Linked DNA regions of Homo sapiens: all the other regions are linked to region 3. The links are contacts of gene promoters, found by promoter capture Hi-C in human tissues and cell types (Jung and others, 2019). All regions are on one chromosome and are shown on one strand. Each heading gives the region's core, a stretch centred on a gene start or on the middle of the fragment in contact. The rest is flanking DNA. Distances are from core to core; before and after follow the strand shown.

Region 1 (2,700 bases), core at 78-2,577, 56 kb after region 3:
ATAGAAAGACTTTAAAAAATCCGTTTAGTACAATTTTGTTGTGAGAATGTGCTCCTTATTTAGATTGCTGGATATCCAATCTTTCACTATACCTGTTTTTTCTGAGAGTGGTGCTAGAAAGCAGATAGCAAAACGAGACTTCTTGACCAGCAAGGCATGAGAACAGAACTTTTTTCTGTATTACAAACTGATCTACTGGTGGGAACTGAGCCCATCAGCACATTAGCTTCAGTTGTAACCAAGAAGCATATTTAAAAGTAACATCTGATGACATTTTAATGTAATTACATTGTATCTTTTCTATTTCATAGTATAGGGCCTTCAGGGCATTTCTGGGGAGTCCTCCAAAGATATGAACATTTTCACATGTTCTGTTTTGTGACCAAGACCATACATCTCCAAGACACGGGCTACAAACCACACAGCATTGGAACATAATATAGTCAATTACACTCAAACGTATACTCATGGACATGTCACTTTTGTACTCTAACCGCATGTACTAACAAGCCACAGAACAGCAAAACAAACCACATGGGTAATGTTCTTAGACCTGCCTGTACCTGTGCCTCATTCTTTACGAATTTACGACCAGTTCTTTCAGTACGAATTTAAGACCACTCTTAAATAAGACACCAAAATGGGACGCTGTCAGGAAGGTCAAGGAACGTATGGGAGAAGTGGAAGCCCACACCTGAGCTCTTCTGGTTGGTGATTGGCTTGCCCTCCTGGGGCACGGCGTGCTGGAACACATGCTGCGCGCGCTGCACCGTGGCCCGCTTCAGACAGATGTCCAGCAGGTCGTGGGTGGTCCCGACATTCTGGGCAAGTACGAACTGGGGGTCGGAATTCAGTTTCTGTATCAGAGCAGCTACCTTCTCCGAATTCAGTCCTGTTGGGAGACCAAACAGGATTTTAACGCAAAAAGAGGGGGAAAGGGCTGATCTGGGGCTCCCGCGTCCCGAATCTAACTTCGTAAGCGCATCCTGGGGTGCCCGCTGCAGCGGGGAAACCCATAAGCGGCATCCTCCTCCAAGGAGCTGTCTCCCTCCAGGCCGATCCAGCCTGCCCCGAAAGCTCCCTCCCCGCCATCGCCAAGGGTCCCAGCCCCCGGCCTTCCCCGCCGCCGGGCCTCACGGGGACCGCGGAGCTCCTCCAGAGGACCGCGGCGGGGGACGGCGGCACCTCACCCGAGCTGCTCATGGCGCCCACGCTGCCCGGCGGGGTAACGGTAGCTTCCAGGGTCCTTGGGCGAGCGCCGGGATTGCGCTGCGGCTCGCTGCCTAGGGGGCCCGACCTGTCTCTCGCACCCGGAGCGCCGGAAAAAGGAAACCGGCTCGGCGGCGGCGGCGGCGGCGGCGGCGGGGAGGCTGAGGCTGGGAGAAACGGGGTCCGCGGAGGGACAAAACTCCCCCCTCGCGTTGCTGAGTCAGCGCCGTCGGGGCTGGCCCCGCCCGGGGGAGGGCCGACGGGGGCGGCCTAGCTGACGCGCTGGGTCCGCCAGCGCCCGGGGGCTGAGGCCGCGCCTGCCCCCGCGCAGGACCGCACAGATGGTCTGCGCGCCAGGGCGGCGCCGGCGCCTTCTCCCCCTAGGTTCCCGCCTCCGGGCCGCGCGGGCGCCCTCCCGGGATCAGGCCCGCTCCAAGGAGGGAGGCTGACGGGTTCCCTGTGGGCCCAGACCCCCAGTACTCTAGCATCGGGGAATCGTCCCCAGGAAGCCTTGTGAGAAGCCAAAAGGGAGCTCGAGGCGGGAGGGAGGAGCTGAGAGGTCCCATAATTAAGCGTCGGGCTTAGGACGGGTCGATATGTCACAAGGAATGCACCCGAAGGCTCTTCCTATAGGCTTCGTTTGCTGACCAATCACTGCATTCTCAATGGCAACTTGTTGCTTGGATTCTCATCAGAAGCAAATAATTGTCTTTGAGGGGGAATGGGAACCAAGCTCTTCCCCACCCACTCCAAAGCTACTACCAGAGTTCTACAAATAGACATCTGCTCATTTCAAGAACACTACCCATCTGGTCTTCACGGAGTCCACGAGTGGCTCCTGTATAGTCCAGCATGTCCCGTTGGGTTTAACTCAGGAGGATGACAGAGGCTAGCCGTATGCATCAATATTGTTTCGCCGAGTTCTCTACAAAACTAACTGATGCTCCCCCTCTAGGCTTTCAAGATAACTCAACAGTTTCCCAAAGTTTTGAGATTGTAAAAACCTTGTTTTTGTTGATTCCGTGTTTCATGCCCTGAAATCTCAGCCCTTAGTAAGATGCTGGGATAGAACCCACAGAGAGTAAAACAAAAACACTGAAACCCTGTATCTGCTATTCAAAACGATGAGGTTGAGTGTGTGTGTGTGTAACCTAGAATCTAGGTCTTCTTAGATTGAAAATCATCGCAGTTCTAAGGAACTCTGATATCTGGAAAAATCCATACTCAGGCACCAATCAGTCATTTGAGAAAGCACGGTTTCTATGTCCCTAGAGAGACTCGGCTAAAAATTGGGGCTATAACATAGCAACTATCTTAAGTGGGCCCATCAACCATCCTATTCTGAGGTTCTTTCAATATCTGAAAAAGAAGAGGCTGAAAATTATACAGAAAGAAATCACTGGTCCTTTCACAAAATGATGTTCAAGCATCCTGCCCAATTCAAGTCATAAATTTTTATTCAGTATCTAACATGTACTAGGCACTGGACAA
Region 2 (2,700 bases), core at 83-2,582, 35 kb after region 3:
CTCGCCATGTCGGTCAGGCTAGTCCTGAACTCCTGACCTCAGGTGATCCTCCCGCCTCAGCCTCCCAAAGTGCTGGGATTTCAGGTGTGAGTCACTGCACCCGGTCTAAAATTCCTTTTATAACCTAACTTTATGTTTTGTTTATAATTCAAATGTGAGAATTTTGTTAAATTGGGGTGATAACACTTAAATCACCTTTTGCTGTTTTAAAATGACTTTTCTTGATCTACATAAGTAATGCAAATTATACTCCACACATTCTCCTGGGTAACCCTAAAAACCTGTTTCTTGGTGTGGGAGTCTCGCTAACTACAGAGCTGAGATTACTGACGAATGGAATAATGAGGAAAACAGCTCGCTGGTTTACAAGACCTCAACCTTTACATTTATTTATGAAAACTACATGAGGATCAGGAGTATCAGCATTAAGACTGCCTCTTAAGTTCAGGGCACCTTTACACCATACTGTGTTTGATCTCATATAAAACTGAGAATACCTCAGAGTTCTACTACTTAAAGCACTAGCCTTATAATTTGCAGGAATGTAATTAAACCTTTAAGACCAAGTTTTGAATACAGAGAGAGCACAGGGATCTTAGATGCTGTGGGGTTGAAAGGGCACCCTTCAAGTGAAGTAGTTGGAAGAGGTGAGAAAAAGGTACAGAAAGAAAACCCCATCCCACTCACAATTCTGCATAGAGTATAAAAAGCAAATCAGGACTTTTAGATAGGCTAGTTAGGAAAATGTGGCATAATGATATGCTAAGATATTTCTAAACATTTTAAAGATCATAAATCTAGTGGATAGGATAGCAAAAACAATTCTCTATCAAACCATTTTCTAGCTGGGTGCGGTGGCTCATGCCTGTAATCCCAGCACTTTGGGAAGCTGAGGCGGGCAGATCACCTGAGGTCAGGAGTTCGAGACCAGCCTGGCCAACATGGCAAAACCCCACTTCTACTAAAAATACAAAAAAATCAGCTGGGTGTGTTGGCGGGCACTTGTAATCCCAGCTACTCGCAAGGCTGAGGCAGGAGAATCTTTTGAGCCCCAGAGGTGGAGGTTGCAGTGAGCTGAGATCACACTACAGCACTCCTGCCTGGATGACAGAGTGAGACTCCATCTCAAAAAAAAAAAAAAAAAATGATTTTCTAGAACAATTTATATAAGGTAGTTATTCTGTGACTTTCCAGGAATTAGGCTAGAAAGAATATTTTTGCTTGTGGTGGTAAAGAATTAAAGTAGTTCAAGTTCTTCCTTCCTGATGATCCTGAGCACAGAGGTGAAAATATCTATTTTTACTGACTGGAAGTGAGGAGTTTATTTGTGAAAGATAAAATTTCAGTTGTTTCCAACTCTATAACCTATAAAAAGTGGTATTACTATACACACTATTTCACAGGAAATTCAAAATACTTTACATCCAATTTCCTGAAGCTCTGCATATAACTAGAAATGGGTATGGAGTCCACAAATTACTGTTATTGACATTTTACTGCAAAAGAATCTGAATGACAAATGAAGGGAAATCTGAACATAGGTCATCAAGATATGAACACTTTCAGGGCACATTTTGATTCCTTATAAAGTAGAAGTTATCTTCTCTCAAGTTCCCTTGCTGACTTCTCTTTAAACCATGACCTTCCAAAGTTACAGAAACAGTTACTTGGTCGCTCCCTGCTGACCCAAATTCTCCTCATAGAAAGTTCCTATTTTTATATTACCTCTAAGCACGCAGCCAAGCCCCAAGTGACGCAGGTACGATGTCTTACTTGGAAACTAACTTTTAACAGAAATCATATACACTATGAATGAAGCTTTGTTGGGTAAACAGTCTACAGGAGAATGTAGATCCATCTGTGCAAACACTCCAGCAGGCATGCTGAGGGTCATACCTTCTCTGAGACAGCAGTGAAGGTCATGGCGTGGGTCATAAGTGACTCACCAAAAGTCAGCCTCTCCGCTTTATTCATGTTCTTCAAGGAGACACCAAACACTAACTCATGGTCATAGCTGTAAAAAGAATGATAGTACAAAATAAAGGGAGTACGATCATGGGGAAAACTGGCTTTTGGTTGTAAAAGGAATTCAGAAGAAACTGAAGGGGCTCAACAGCTCCAAATAAATAAGGCTCTAGCTGTAGCTCTTCAGAAAGAATATGGAACATGCAGAACTTAGTCTCTCAGTGGGAGTCCATTCTCTATGTGTCACAAGAGTATGCAGGAAAAAAAGGAGATGATTAAACATAAATTCTCCACATCAGAAGCTGACAAGTTTACATTGTCATTTAGGCAAGAAAACTTTAAAAAATAATGAAAAAAGCGTTTGAAGTAACTTCTTAGAAAACTGATCTCTTTTGAGCTGGTGGAACCAACCAGTTTCTGAATTCATTTAAATCACTGCTGATTAAAATTTAAATAAATAATGTCCAAAATATTGGGGAATATTTTTGCATAAGCACTACACTCACATTGTTAAATACAAAGAAACAAAAGGCAAAATACATGTGAGAGAGGTCCTTGCATGTTCTAGTTAGTGTGAGAGACACACTTGGGAGTTGCATGTACCTGTTTTCAAAAATTTTTTAAACCTCATTAATTCTTTTTTTTAGCAGATTTCTCTATCAAGATATTTACTCAACTTCCTACAAGTAACAACTATTTATAAGTAACCCTAAAATAGAGAATGGTGAACAGTCA
Region 3 (2,700 bases), core at 1-2,500:
AACGGTCACTGCCACCCCAGAGTGCGTGGCAGGAAAACCCGAACCCTGGGGCCTCAGTGGCTTCACACAGAAGCAAGTAATGGGACAAAGAGTCAAAGCTGTGTGCTCCCTACGCTCCTAAAAACCCAACACTGACGCTGCCCACAGTTCTCTGTTTCATTAAACACAAGTCCCAATGTCACCTTCTTAGACATTTTTCCTATGTAACTGAAGGCAAAACACATTAAATATTTGCTCTCGTCTTCCTATGATGAGAGTTAGCTAGCAGGCTCATAAATAATCCATTGACCAGGTTCACTTTTCTGGACAAAACTGATGGTAAAAATACATACACAAAGTCTTTGTAATGTCTGATTCAGAAATTCTACCCCTCTCAAATTCTTCAGAGTCCCAAATGGAAAAGGAACAATTCAATATGCAAAAGCCCCAGTTCAGAAGAAAATCTGCTCCTTAGCCCAAGACCCAAATCCACTCTTGAGCTCCAGAGAGCTTTTTTTCAAGAACAAGTTTGAATGTACACAATTTTCAAGCAAATGATGGTTATATCCTTCAACCACGTAGCACAGTCGTTGGAGTTGGAGTTTCACATACATTCTGAATGGCCTGTGAGGTGTCTGAGAGCGCCTCAGCTCTGACAGTGAAACCACCCAAGCGCACGGAGACTCGGCCCACTTAGGCGCCACTCAGAGATTTCTCTAGCTGTCTGGGCATTTGTGTCAACCAGAACTCTCCCTTTGCATAAAGCCACCTGCACGCGATGACAGCAAAGTAAAGATCAAACATAAACCATGGGTTGAAACGAAAGCAAGCAACTCTTCCCAAAGCGCAGGACAGCACTTTGCTCAAGACCCTCTTTAAGGGGTCTTTCACGGGTCCTCAAGAGGTTGCAAAGCCCCTGCAACAATAGACAAAGGAGCCCCCTACGCCCGCCCACTTCGAGCACTCCACGTTCCTCGTCTCCCACTCTGGCCGGTCAGCTTCAGCTCTGGCTCTTGCTGAGCGTGGAGGGCGCAGGGGCAGGATCCGGCGCCCACCGCTGGGGCGCATGCACCTCCTCGCCTCCTCGCAGGGCGGTGGGGCGCAGCGGTTCTATCCCCCTCCCCGAGGCGGGGAAGAAGGTCTGGAAAGAAACGTGGGTTCGAGGCGGAGAGGAAAAGCGGACCCACCTGCCAGGCTGCGCGGGGAGGCTGGTCCCGGGCTGGGCAGGCGGGCTGGCCTCGCGCCCTCGAGGCACCCGGCGGCGCTGGCTGTGCGGAGGGGCGCCGGCGCGGCCGTATTTGTACCCGCGGGCCCTCACATGGTCTGATCTCTAGATAGCCGCCGCCAAAGAGCTCTTGAAGAATTTTTGCGTCACTTTGAGGCGAATAAACTTAATGCTTCCCCGCGGCCGCGGCTCCGCGCTCCCGCTGGATGGGGTTGCGCTCGCCAGGGAGGGGCCGCGCTACGGGGCGGGGTGCGCGCCCGACCCCAGAGCCAGGAGGGGAGGGACCCCCGACACACACACACGCTCGCAGGGAGGAGCGGAGCGCGGAGCAGCCGGCAGGGCAGGGCCGAGCGAGGAATCCTGACTTTCCTGCTCTTTAACTTTGCGGGAGGGGGGAGGCTGCACAAAGGAGCAGGTGTGCGCCTCCCCTGCCGCCCCGCGCCCACAGGACGGCACACAGGGGTCTGCTCGTGCCGCTTTCTCTTGACCTCGGACACCTCCCCATCGTCCCCATCCCGAAAGCTGCTCTCTCTTTCTTCCTGGGACCTAGCAGTACTCGATACCCATGCGTTTATCTGACTGACCGGCTGGGATGTGAGCTCAGCTTAGAGGCCCTTGTCTAATTCCTCTCCGTCCCCAGAGTCTCACAATAAAGACTTCCACAATGAAGGAATGAAGAACTGGTTCTCATTTTGTTAACCAGCTACAGTTCAAAGCTGCGTCAAAAAGGAGCACAGTGCTTTGGGAGGCTGAGGCGGGAGGATTGCTTGAGCCCAGGAATTCAAGACCAGCCTGGGCAACACAGCAAGACCCCATCTCTAGAAAAAAAATTTTTTTAATTAGCCGGGCGTGGTTGCTCGCGCTTGTGTTCCCAGCTACTCAGGAGGCTGAGGTGGAGGATCAGCTGAGCCCGGGAGGTCGAGGCTGCAGTGAGCCGTGATCGAACCACTGCACTCCAACCTGGTGACAATTTGAATTATCTGAAAGGGCCCAGCAGGAGCCTATTGTTTTGAACCATGTGCATGTAGTTTTGATAATTTTTTCAAAAAGTTTAAAAATTGATTTAATGTTAATATCCTTTTTGCTAAAATTATTTAAAACTTTAAAAAGGGCACATGCAGTACTTGCTTTGGGTTGTCCCTGAGGCGGAAAGGAGAGGGCTCTACCTCTCCCCAAGAGGAGGCCAGGAACGATAGGAAGTAGAAGACCGAAAGGAAATAGCAGTGACAAGTTTGCAGCTCCAGAGAAGCCACCGCCCCTTGTACTTGGAGGAACTGACCCCTGAAAACTGTGCGGCCGGTTGGGCTGAGCGTCTAGAGGGACTGAGCTGGACAACCACGGGCAAGCGAGGGCAGCTCCCAGCGGGTGGAGTCCGCGCGGGATTCTGGTGCCACCTAGACGCCAGGGCGGGGACCGCAAGGTGGGCGGGAGGCTTGGAGGCCGGGATGCGGGGGAATACTGGTAGGGTGCAAGGAGAATGCTGGAGGGGTGCAGGG

The links. Contacts are between HindIII fragments. The study calls those that stand out against the background at their distance.
Region 1: a contact is called between the fragment with the promoter of BLMH here and the fragment with the promoter of SLC6A4 in region 3, in 3 of the 25 tissues and cell types used here (adrenal gland, lymphoblastoid cells and mesenchymal stem cells).
Region 2: a fragment that was not itself captured here is called in contact with the fragment with the promoter of SLC6A4 in region 3 in 7 of the 25 tissues and cell types used here (lymphoblastoid cells, mesenchymal stem cells, mesendoderm cells and 4 more).

What each region holds. Positions count from the first base shown.
Region 1 is chr17:30,290,617-30,293,316 of GRCh38, forward strand. BLMH (bleomycin hydrolase) reads right to left here and starts at 1,328. Exons shown (of 12, transcript NM_000386.4): 1 at 1,191-1,328; 2 at 695-892. The coding sequence starts at 1,203. RefSeq lists an enhancer at 549-608 and silencers at 1,059-1,128, 1,329-1,738. The HindIII fragment of the contact is 11,402 bases long and covers 1-2,700 here.
Region 2 is chr17:30,269,375-30,272,074 of GRCh38, forward strand. It overlaps BLMH (bleomycin hydrolase), which reads right to left. Exons shown (of 12, transcript NM_000386.4): 10 at 1,897-2,014. Among named protein-coding and RNA genes, the nearest start is that of BLMH, 21 kb to the right of the region's middle. The HindIII fragment of the contact is 4,054 bases long and covers 1-2,700 here.
Region 3 is chr17:30,234,447-30,237,146 of GRCh38, forward strand. SLC6A4 (solute carrier family 6 member 4) reads right to left here and starts at 1,251. Exons shown (of 15, transcript NM_001045.6): 1 at 1,167-1,251. It also overlaps a transcript of LOC105371720 not described here. RefSeq lists promoters at 1,035-2,700, 1,035-2,700, 1,035-1,329, 1,225-2,700, 1,230-2,700 and 1 more, cis regulatory regions at 1,330-2,700, 1,691-2,515, 2,392-2,431, 2,659-2,700, 2,698-2,700 and a silencer at 1,485-1,667. The HindIII fragment of the contact is 6,948 bases long and covers 1-2,700 here.